4 separate regions of the Homo sapiens genome follow, and regions 1, 2 and 3 are each linked to region 4. Evidence: promoter capture Hi-C in 16 types of primary human blood cells and fetal thymus (Javierre and others, 2016). All regions are on one chromosome and are shown on one strand. The core of a region is centred on a gene start or on the middle of the fragment in contact, and the rest is flanking DNA. Distances in the headings are between cores, read along the strand shown. Region 1 overlaps CUBN (cubilin). Region 2 overlaps RSU1 (Ras suppressor protein 1). Region 3 overlaps CUBN (cubilin). Region 4 holds the start of TRDMT1 (tRNA aspartic acid methyltransferase 1).

The links. The method cuts DNA at HindIII sites, captures the fragments that hold promoters and counts their contacts. A CHiCAGO score of 5 or more calls a contact.
Region 1: a fragment that was not itself captured here is called in contact with the fragment with the promoter of TRDMT1 in region 4 in 10 of 17 cell types (activated CD4 T cells, naive CD8 T cells, M2 macrophages and 7 more); the score reaches 15.5 in activated CD4 T cells.
Region 2: a fragment that was not itself captured here is called in contact with the fragment with the promoter of TRDMT1 in region 4 in 7 of 17 cell types (activated CD4 T cells, total CD8 T cells, naive CD8 T cells and 4 more); the score reaches 16.3 in activated CD4 T cells.
Region 3: a fragment that was not itself captured here is called in contact with the fragment with the promoter of TRDMT1 in region 4 in 11 of 17 cell types (activated CD4 T cells, total CD8 T cells, naive CD8 T cells and 8 more); the score reaches 14.5 in activated CD4 T cells.

Annotation. Positions count from the first base shown.
Region 1 is chr10:16,924,944-16,927,863 of GRCh38, reverse strand. It overlaps CUBN (cubilin), which reads left to right. Exons shown (of 67, transcript NM_001081.4): 42 at 2,090-2,280; 43 at 2,440-2,623. Among named protein-coding and RNA genes, the nearest start is that of RSU1, 110 kb to the right of the region's middle. The HindIII fragment of the contact is 5,679 bases long and covers 1-2,920 here.
Region 2 is chr10:16,796,567-16,799,451 of GRCh38, reverse strand. The region is part of intron 2 of RSU1 (Ras suppressor protein 1); the gene reads left to right. Among named protein-coding and RNA genes, the nearest start is that of RSU1, 19 kb to the left of the region's middle. The HindIII fragment of the contact is 2,324 bases long and covers 445-2,768 here.
Region 3 is chr10:16,869,889-16,872,611 of GRCh38, reverse strand. The region is part of intron 58 of CUBN (cubilin); the gene reads left to right. Among named protein-coding and RNA genes, the nearest start is that of RSU1, 54 kb to the right of the region's middle. The HindIII fragment of the contact is 1,153 bases long and covers 803-1,955 here.
Region 4 is chr10:17,200,349-17,203,062 of GRCh38, reverse strand. It overlaps TRDMT1 (tRNA aspartic acid methyltransferase 1), which reads left to right and starts at 1,391. Exons shown (of 11, transcript NM_004412.7): 1 at 1,391-1,492. The coding sequence starts at 1,429. RefSeq lists a silencer at 1,694-1,753. The HindIII fragment of the contact is 5,194 bases long and covers 1-2,002 here.

The sequences.
Region 1 (2,920 bases), core at 159-2,658, 280 kb after region 4:
TTTTTCAGCCTAGCTGAGGGCTGGAACTAGATAGAGCACAGCTCATATCCATAACTCATCGAAGGAGCAAAACGTCATCATTTATTCTCATAAATTACTTGGTTGAAGTCAGCCATCTGAGGGTTGGCAGGAAGAGTTTGTTGCTCTTGAAATATGAATTTGATGAGTCAAAAGCGGGCACCATATATGGGATACCATCATGCACAGTATGATTGAGACTTTTCAAACTTGACATGTGAAGTCCAGTAACAGCCTTAAATCCAAACTAACTGAAAGGTGATAAAGTAGTCCAAGGAAGAGTGAAAGACTCTCATGTTTTGATCAAAAAACATAATTTTAAAGTAGATTCTCAATCTAACATTAAAAATTAATCTAATATTTCCTCCATGCTTATATATACCTTTTATAAAGTAGGGAGCAACTGAAGATAAGTTGTGTTCCTCACGCTCAAGGGAGGCAGGCTGCATAGTGGCTTAAGAGCATGGGCTTTGGAACTAGACCTAAGATACATTTTCACCTCTACAATTTAACTAGCTGTGTGAGATGTCTGCCCTTACTGATGAGCTTCTGGTCCCTGACAACTGGAGAATTAATGCCTCCTCCTTTTATCCTCTTCCTTTATCTCCTGCCCTCTCACTCTCATGTATATATTACTATGTATCGCAACTCATTATACATACATACATGTATACACATGTATGTATATAGTAAGGGTGGAACCATTGGAATTAATATGTGTGTTTATATATGTATATAATATATATAAATATGTGTGTGTGTCTATGTATATATACATACTTGGCAGCTCCCGGTCTAGAATGTATTTCAAATTTAACCTGTGAGTGGTATAATGGACTTTGGAGACTCAGAAGTGGGGAGGATGGGTGGGGTATGAGGGATAAAAAACTACATATTAGGTGTAATGTATACTAGTCAGGGAACCAGTGCACTAAAATATAGACTTCACCAGTATGCAATTCATCCATGTAACGAAAAACCACTTGTATCCCAATTAGACTAGATAGATAGATAGATAGATAGATAGATAGATAGAAAAAAAAATTTCACCTTTGAAAGTTGAACACTTTATTCCCACCCTTTTCCATGCCACCACCCCCCAATTCTACACTCCTCATAATCTCAGCAAATGGAAAGTACATTTTTCTCATTATTTAAGTCAAAATCTTGATGTTATTTTTGACTTTTCTGTTTGTCTCACACTTAACCATCAACAAATCACACTGGCTCTACCCTCACAATGTATCTAGATTCCAACCACGCCTCTCCATTTCTGTTGCTACCAGCCTAGCCCGTGCACCTATCATCTCTCCTTGGCCTCAGGCGGTCCCCTCCTTATTGGACACTCTGCTCCTGTCCTTCCCTGTCCTCCACCCCTTACAGTCTAAGGACTGCACATAGAGTGACATTTTCAAACTTAAGTGAGATCATGCCATTCTGATGCCCAAAACCCTTCAACATCTTCCTCTTCTTATTCAGAATAAGTCTTTTCAGTTTCCTGCATGACCTAGCCATGCTACCTTTGGAATCTCTCATTCTGCCTCATCCATTCTGACTTCCATGATGTACCTCTAACACATCAAGCCTTTACACTGTTTTCTGAACTGGAATGTTTTCTCCCCCATAACTATCTGGCTTGATCCTTCATTTCATTCATGTCTCTGCTAAGATGTTACTCCAATGACGTGGCTTTTCTAACTTAACTCTAACAATAAAGTACCCTTCTCCCTCCTCTCATCCATTTTTCTTTATAGAATTTATCACCATCTCACATATCATGTATTTGTTTATTGTATGTCTTCCCCATCTATAAAGAAATCTTTATGAAAGCAGGTAATTTGTCTTGTTTACTTACCTCTGTATCCCAGATCTCAATGACCACCACAAACTGAGTAGCCAATAGCATGTGCTCAATACATGCTTGTTATGATAATCATTTCCTGCACTCTGGCTTTATTTTCAAGCATTTTTATTGCCTCCACTTTGAAAACCCCCCAAGAAAACTAAGAAAGCATAAAAATCCAGTTGCCAATGCTATTTAAATAACCGACCTTTGTTTCTTTGTGGGAAGGCTGCGGTGGATATTTGCATGCAGACAGAGGGATCATCACGTCCCCCAAGTATCCAGAGACTTACCCATCCAACCTCAACTGTTCTTGGCACGTCCTGGTCCAAAGTGGCCTGACCATTGCTGTCCATTTTGAACAGCCTTTCCAGATTCCAAATGGAGATTCTTCTTGCAACCAGGGGGATTACTTGGTGGTAGGTCTTGCTGCTACCCTTTCTAATTACATTTTCCATAGACTTCATTCAGAAAACAAAATGATAATTTTTCTCTCCTGGGACATAAATGGATAAGAATTGCGTACTCCTTCTTTTGCAATGTAAAGGAGTTGATGAAATTTTAATTTGTCTTTCCAGCTAAGAAATGGTCCTGATATCTGTTCTCCACCCTTGGGACCCCCTGGAGGAAATGGTCATTTTTGTGGCAGTCATGCTTCATCAACTCTGTTCACCTCGGATAATCAAATGTTTGTTCAGTTTATTTCTGATCACAGTAATGAAGGGCAAGGATTTAAAATCAAATATGAGGCAAAGAGTTTAGGTAAGTATTTTCACTGAGAATTATATCTGCTTTTCCTGCAATTGCTTGATCTTCTTTGATATAAAATTTTCTTTTCTGAACCAACAGTAATAGAATTAATAAGAATGCCTACTCTCAAGTACTTATTATATTTGATACATTCAATATCTCATCGTGACTACTTTTCAAGTAAAGTATCATTATTTCCATTTTAAAGATAAATAAAATGAGGCTTGGACTTTTCCAAGGCCACATACCTAATTAGTGACCAAAGTGAAATTTTCCATGAGTATAAAATAAACTATTCTTCTTGATCCC
Region 2 (2,885 bases), core at 357-2,856, 400 kb after region 4:
TGAGGCATTCCTACCGGTTGCTGGCTCCAGCAGGTATTTCTGCTCCTACTATGCTGTGATTCTCTGTGTTTGCCTGTCTCTAGATTTCGGTATGGTGGTTTGCCCTGTGACCTGAGTTTTCTAATGAATCTATGGAAGAGTTGTTTGTTTTCTGTTTGCTCAGCTTTCTTCTTACTGTGAGTATGGTAGTGACAACGTCCAGAATCTCTATTTGCTAACCAGAAACCCGATACATCTCTAATCTGGTATTAATTTTGGAAATACGGCTCCCTGCTTTTTAGAATTTGAACTGTATCTAGATTTTCAGCACATATAGCCATTTCCTATGATACAGTCTCTCCTTTAGCCCTCACGTAGTCTTAGTTCTACAGGCACCCCTATCTTTTATGCGCATTAGGAGTCCTTAGGACAATGTATCTCTAGTTATTTTGATTGTCTGAAGCTTATACTCTGGAATATTCCTCAGAAAGGCATCAAGAGAATAATCCCAGAGTTTTTTCTGTGGATAGTACATAAAAATTTGTGTTCTTTTTACATGAAAGTCAATTTTACAGGTATAGAGACTCGACAGTTTCTTTTCTGGAGTGTTGTCGATGTGTTACTCTATTTCTTCTGGCATAAAGCATTGTTTGAAAGTCTGGTGATACAATTTTATTTCCTGTAATTTTACTGGAGTATGACTTGGTGTAGGGCGTAGGTCATTCTGGTCTGATTATTTCCCAGGTATGTAGTATGCTCTTTAAAGTTTGAAAATTGTATTAGTCTGTTTTCATACTGCTACAAAGAACGGCTCAAGATGGGTAATTTATGAAGGAAAGAGGTTTAATTGACTCACCATTCAGCATAGTTGGGGAGACCTCAGGAAACTTACAATCATGGCGGAAGGGAAAGCAAGGTGCCTTTTTCACAAGGCAGTAGGATGGAGAAGTGCTGAGCGAAGGGGGAAGAGCCCCTTATAAAACCATCAGATCTCATGAGAACTCACTATCGGGGGAACAGTATGGGGGAAACCACCCCCATGATTCAGTTATCTCCACCCGGTCTCTCCCTTGACATACGAAGATTATGAGGATTACAGTTCAAGATGAGATTTGGGTGGGAACACAGCCTAACCATATCAGAACTTTTAAATACCTTTTATTTCAAGAAAGTATTTTTATTGTGATTTTTAGTCTATGAGCTCTTTCCTTATGTTCTTTATGGTTTTCTGGGGTCTGTATGTTGATTTTTTTGCCCATCTTTAATATTTGTCACTTTTGCCCAGATCCCTGTTCTTGCTTCATTTCTTTGTTTTAAAAGAAATCCCTCATGCCTATAATCCCAGCACTTTGGGAGGCCGAGGCAGGCATATCAGGTGAGGTCAGGAGTTCGAGACCAGCCTGGCCAACATGGTAAAACCCCGTCGCTACTAAAAATACAAGAATTAGCCGGGCGTGGTGGTGGGCACCTATAATCCCAGCTACTCTGGAGGCTGAGGCAGGAGAATCCCTTGAACCCGAGAGGCGGAGGTTACAGTGAGCCGAGATTGCCCCGCTCCACTCCAGTCTGGGCAACAGAGAGAGATTCCATCTCAAAAAAAAAAAAAAAAAAAAAAAGAAGAAATCCCCACTTTAACTTCTGTTTCTTGTAAAGTATTACGTATTGTGTTTATTTGCTCTTATATGTCTTTGAATTTAGCTTTCATTTCTGAAATAATTTTTTTTGTTTCTAATTTTTTTCTTAAGTTTTGTCCCTTTATTGCTGAATTTTTGGAAATCAGATTTATGTTTCTGTTTTGTGTCATGTATCATTGTTGTAATGGCTTTTTACCTTGTTTTGAAATAGTCAATTATAGTTTTGCCCTGTGTTCTGGGCATCTTTTTGGTTAGTGAGTTTTCATGGTCAATGATGTTCTTCTACACTTTCTTTTTCCTTTTATTCCATAATAACGTTATGGGATTTGCTCCCAATATTTTTTATGTTGCTCATTTTTAAATGAAATTAATTTTCCTAAACTTTCAGAGGAAGGCTTAGTTCTAGATAGCTTTTCTAACTTTACAGAGCTCTGTCCTCTGGTTGATTTTATGTAGTTTTCAGAAATACAGTGGCTTGCTTTCAGATGACTTGGTTCAGTCCTTCTGCCCACTTTTATCTGGATCTTCTCTATCCTTGGTCTCTTTTTCTCTCTCTTTTTAAAAGCGTTTTATTTTTACTTACTGCTCCTTGTGGAGTAGGGCTACCCTATAGGCAGTGTGCCTCTATCATTGGTCTCTATTATTTCTGTCTTATCCAGCTTTGATTCTAGGCCCTGTCCTGCAAGGGAGCCCTAGGTGGTCAGTTTCCAGGTCACAGGGCCTAGACTTGTCCTAATCCATCAGACCCTACTGCAGGCCCTGCTGTTGGAATGGGCAAACCCTTCCTAATTTCAGCTGCTATTCTCACAGAGGTCTTCTGGGCTTTCTGGTGAATTTGTTTAGCTATTCGGGGGTTCTCAGTTGTCAAGTTTGTTAGTTGCCCCTTGGGTTCTCTCTGCTTTCGTCACATGCATGCTGATATCATGCCAATCTTTGGGTTACTGGTAGCTTGTCCTCATCTACTTGTATTTTGGAGTTTTTTGTGGGGACACTTTATAACCTAGTTTTGTTGTAAATTGTGTCCTTGAATTTTTTCTTGCTGCCTAGTTTCTCTATTTTGATGTAGGGTTTCAGGATTCCTAAAATCTGCCATGCTGCCTCCACGTTTCCTGCACCTACACTTTTTCCTCCTTGGTACAGTGGGAAAAATAAGCTTCTCCTCAAATGAAGGATAATGTGTATGTAGTATCTGATGCAGACCAGGTACTCAAAAAATGATCATTGTGATGAACAGTTTGACAATTTCATACTTGTTGAGCAGTGGCATAGTCT
Region 3 (2,723 bases), core at 130-2,629, 330 kb after region 4:
TGTTTTCTGGCTTATAGAAGGTACCTTCTTGCTGTGTCTTCATGAGCTGGAAGGGCCTCTTATAAAACACTAATCCCATTTGTGAGGGGTCCTCCCCCATGACCTAATCACCTCCCATAGGCCCCACTTCCTATACCATTAGCTTAGGGAACATATGAATTTAGGGGAACACAAACATTCCAACCATGGTATACATACCAACTCATAGAGGTATGTTATATATTCTCTCTCTCTTTATCTGTCTATCTATCTATATATATATGTATGTATACAATCTAAATGTATTTTTTCAGTTTTCAGCCTGGATCCTGGAGCTCACCATAATGAAATTTACATCTGCATGTTTATTTTATTTTACTTATTTATTTATTTGAGACTAGCTCTCACTCTGTCGCCCAGGCTGGAGTGCAGTGGCGTGATCTCAGCTCACTGCAACCTCCACCTGCTGGGTTCAAGCGATTCTCCCACCTTAGCCTCCTGAGTAGCTGGGACTACAGGTGTGTGCCACCAGCCTGGGTAATTTTTTCTTTTGTATATATATATATATTTAGTAGAGATGGAGTTTTGCCATGTTGGCCAGGCTGGTCTTGAATCCCTGACCTCAAGTGGTCCACCTGCCTCGGCCTCCCAAAGTGCTGGGATTGCAGGTGTGAGCCACCACACCCAGCCTACATCTGCAGGTTTAGAAAATTATTTATTGCGCACTAAGAGCCTACATTCTAGGAAACAGATAAGATTCTAGGTGTGGTAGAAGATGCAGACATTAATAAAAGGCTCTCAAAAGATTGTGGTTACACAAGCTTTTCTGTCAATGGGCTTTTCAGATCTCTTCTGTGCTCTCCTGGGAAAATGATGTAAAATAAAAAGCCAAAGCAGATTTAAGTCCTCTTAGAAACTCAGATTTTATCTCTCTTTGTGGATTCTTTTTGTGAAAAATAAATGTGTTGTCTGTAGAGAATTAAAATGAATACAGTGTTGTTGGAAATTATCTAGCTATTGTTCTTCCCTGATCTTTTACAATAACATTAAATGTTAAATGTGGTAAAAGAAAATCAATACGGTTTTCATCTTGTTCCTCATCAGTCTGAAAACCTTCAACCAACCAAAACCTTTTAGAAAAAAAACCAACAATTTTTTTTCTCAAGGCTGTTGAAAGGAAGCATTTATTATATATTTTATATATAAATATATATTATTTAGTCTATATTTTCAAAATTATTCCATATTATGGATTGTTTATTAGAGCTACTGCCAAAATAAATTGAAAATGCAGGCTGGGCATGGTGTCCCATGCCTGTAATCCCAGCACAGGGAGGCTGAGGCAGGCAGGTCACCTGAGGTCAGAAGTTCAAGACCAGCCTGGCCAACATGGCAGAAACCTCATCTCTACTAAAAAATATACATGTAATTAAAAAAAATAGCCAGGCATGGTGGTGGACACCTGTAATCCCAGCTACTCGGGAGGGTGAGGCAAGAGAATCACTTGAACCAGGGAGGCAGAGGTTGCAGTGAGCTGAGATTGTGCCACTGCACTCCAGCCTGTGCAACAGAGTGAGACTCTGTCTCAAAAAAAAAAAGAAAAAGCAGAAGAACCTATAAAAATGAGGACAGGATATCAAATATTATTTTTTTAAACAAGTTTTAAAAATAAGCTATAATAAACCCACCACAAAACTCTAAAGTAAATCCATGTAAGAAGCCTTGCTTGTTCAGGAACTCTAGAAATCGTTATTTGAAATGACAAAGAATAAGACCTGAATTAAACACTGTATAAGACAGAGAAAAGTTAGGGATGCATCTGTCAGGATAGGTTATGCACATAGTAACAAACAACTCCACCTCACAGCAGCTTAACTCAACAAGTTGATTTCTCATTGTAATGAGCATGTTCAGTGTGGCCTGGCATGGAAGCTCTGCTCATCGTGGTCATCCAACAACCCAGGCTGATGGAAGCTTCGTTTTTACATTTGCTTCCATGATCATCACTGCAGTGGGAAGGCAGTGTGGCAAAGCAAGTAGTCATTTGTAAAGCTTCTTCCGTAAAGTAATATGTATCCCTTCTGCTTACATTTCTGTGGTCAAAGCAACTCCTAGCAGCCATGTCAAGCCTCAAAGTGTGCCCCTAGGGCAATCCTACCAGTGCTGGGGAGGCAGAGAGCTGGGACCATGTGCAGAAGTGTCAGTGACCACCACAGAGGTCTTAAATGTAAATTTCCTGTTCTTCACCTGACCTTAACATAAACTTCATTTTAAAAGAGGAAAATGAGACTGTGAGGAGAATGGAGCTGTGATTCTAAAAGCAGCATTTCTTCTATTATATTAACATGCTTCCCATAAGTTCTACTTCATCTCATAAAATAACAAGGGAAGAGTAAATATGGTATTTTTAATGAGACCTAAAAAACTAAAGTATTGCTGGGATAGTAAATATCAGTTCAACTTGTCAAAAGTTGTTCTCAGATGGACTTTAATATGCCCTAGACTGTGAATTCCTTGAAAAGTAAGACTGTATCTTACTCACTTTGACATCCCCAGCTGCTGTCACAGTTTTTGTTGTATTGTAATTACTAAAAACAAATTTGGCTAAACTTTTGAACTGATCAGTAAAGTACTGTTTGATTTCTAATATTTCATATCAAGTGAGTTTTGAATGCTCTACTGGTAGTTTTTTCCTTGTCATTTTTTTTGCAAGAGCTAAAGCTACAATTTAATAGAAGTCCAAA
Region 4 (2,714 bases), core at 142-2,641:
CATACCGACATAACAGACTCTTCTTAGCAATAAGATACCAAAATTCCAACATGACTCTAGTATAGCATCACATGAAAGATAGCAGGCCCTAAATCAAAGCATTTTACCCTAAAATAAATTTCTTTGACACTTTTTGAAATGGCCCTACACAGCCATCTCTTGTGGGGAAAATCTACATTCTATAGAGACTCCCTTTCCCTTTCCAGGTCTTTTCCTGATCCAAGAGATATTTAACTAAGAGTCTGGCATCTTTTTACACATGATAAGAGACATTTGCCAATTATTCTCTCTGAAGCCTGTTACGTATGAGACTTCGTCTACATAATAAGAACCTTGGTCTCCACCTTATCTTAACCCAGACACATTCCTTTCTATTGATTCCAGGTCTTTAGGTCACAACTTAACTCTTTCAACCAACTGCCAATCAGAAAATCTTTGAATCCACCTGTAACCTGGAATCCTTCCCCTTTTTGAGTTGTCCCATCTTTATGGACCAAACTAAGTACACCTTCCATATACCAGTTAATGTCCTTATGTCTCCCTAAAACCATATAATCCCAAGCTGTAGCCCAACCACCTTGGGTACATGTTGTCAGGACCCTGTGGGGTTGTGTCATGGGTCACGGTCCTCACCTTGTGCTCAGAATAAACCTCTTCAAACATTTTACGGAGTTTGGCTTTTTTCGTCAACATGAGCCTCTAACAGTTGGTTACTGGATCATCCTGAGGAATCAAGGCCATAGCACTTAAAGACCCATAAATAATCCTACATGATATTCACTGTGTATTCTATGTAGGTGTAATTTCCAAGCTAAAACATAATTAACCCCACTAATAGACACAACAAACATCCTCTGTATTATCAGCACGCACACAGGGCTTTCTCTGCTGCGAGTGGACTTGTGTCCTTACTTATAATTCTGGAATCTTCTCTAGGGGAGAGGCTGGTCTAATTTCTCTCTATTGACCCAGGGCAGGCAGGAAACAAGGCACACTGTGGAAAGAATGTTTGAATGTTCAGGCTTCTAAGTGACAGAAAAGCAGCTTGTCTGAAAAATGATTTTTTTCTGGCTTCTAACCAGTGTTAATTCACTTGGAAACCAAGGCAGTTTTCTCCCCTTTACTGAACTCTGGATTTCTTTTCCAATCAAGGCCCCTGACACCAAAGAAGGAAATGGAGCGTAAATCAGGCTACAGAGTGGCTGCCATTCATTCGGGAAGCCTTATTGTTTTCCGTCCTTTGTTCCCCTCTAGACCCTTGCCAATCCCCAGGCCGCGAGGCCCTCTGAAGCCCTGAGCCTGGAGCGGTAGGAGACGGGGGAACTGAAACGCCGCGGAACCAGAGGCTGAGGGAGCGGCGCGATGGAGGGAGGAGGAGCGACGGACCGGCAGGCCTAGCTCCGGGGCTGCGGCGGCTGAGGCGCGGGGATGGAGCCCCTGCGGGTGCTGGAGCTATACAGCGGCGTGGGCGGCATGCACCACGCGCTGAGAGGTGAGAGTCCATCTAGCACCCCTCTCTCTATTCGCTCACGGGGGCTGGTTGGAGCACCCGCGCCGGGAAGGGGCGGAGCGGCGAGACGCAAGGGGCGGACACTGTGGGGCGGACACTGTGGGGCGGCCCTCGGTTGTCCTGGAAACAGCTCCTGCGCGCCGCCGTGTCCACCCCTCCAGACGCTGACTCCCTTCTCCTGGCGCCGAGTCTGGCTCGAGGGGCCGCACATGGCGCCTCAAAGGGCCCAGTTGGGAGTCGGGATTCGCAAGGCAGTAAATCAACCTCAAAGGGTATCAAAGGGGCGAGACCCTCGCCTGGTGCCAAGCCCCCATTCTAAGTGTGCAGCCACCGAGAAGCATGGAGACTCGGTCCTTCATCCTGGGGGGCTTCCCAGCTGGGGAGGGAGGGAGTGTCAGGGGCTCCCCTGGTGAGAGATGGATCTTGGAAGGGATAATAGCTACAATTCAAGGTAGAAGTTTGCGAATGCTAAATAGGATGGTAGAGGAAGCTTGAAGAACTTGGACGTCTGATCGTTGGAAAGAAACGTGTCTTCTGTAGTTCTGCGTTTAGATGCCAGAGAACTGAGTTCCAGCTTGGTGGCAGTGTGACGTTGGGCTACTTCGTGAACAGTGATGAACCTGTTTCCTGGTTTTAAAAGAGAATGATTATTATAAGGATTAAAGTCTGTCAAGTGCTTGTTAGTGCCTGATACATTGTAACCACTCCAAATATTATACATTATTATCACTATTACTTTAAAACGACATCACGAGATATTATCAAGCAAACTATTACTTTTATGCACGTCTTTGATTTTGAGGTTTTTGATTTCTTTCATGCTGAGTTGGAACTGAAAGTTTTACTTTTGGTGATATTCACTCAAAATTATTTATTGAGCTCCTATTCTGTGCCAGATTTTGTGCTAGGAGCTGGGGATACAGAATGACAAACAGGCTTTGAAGGTGCATGTTTATTCTTAAATTACTAAGACAACCACCGAACTGAAACTTCCCTGCTTCCTTATTTAGGACCAAGAGTAACAAGAGTAACTGTAAGATACAGACAATATTTAATGGGTTTAGCGTATAAGTTTTTTGAGCAGATTTATTGAGTTTCAATTCTAGACTAGGTTAATGATCATTAAGTTTTTAGTACTTGTTTGCCGGCTATCTTTATTTCTCATTTTAAAACTTAGCAGCATCAAAGCAAAACTCTAGTACTA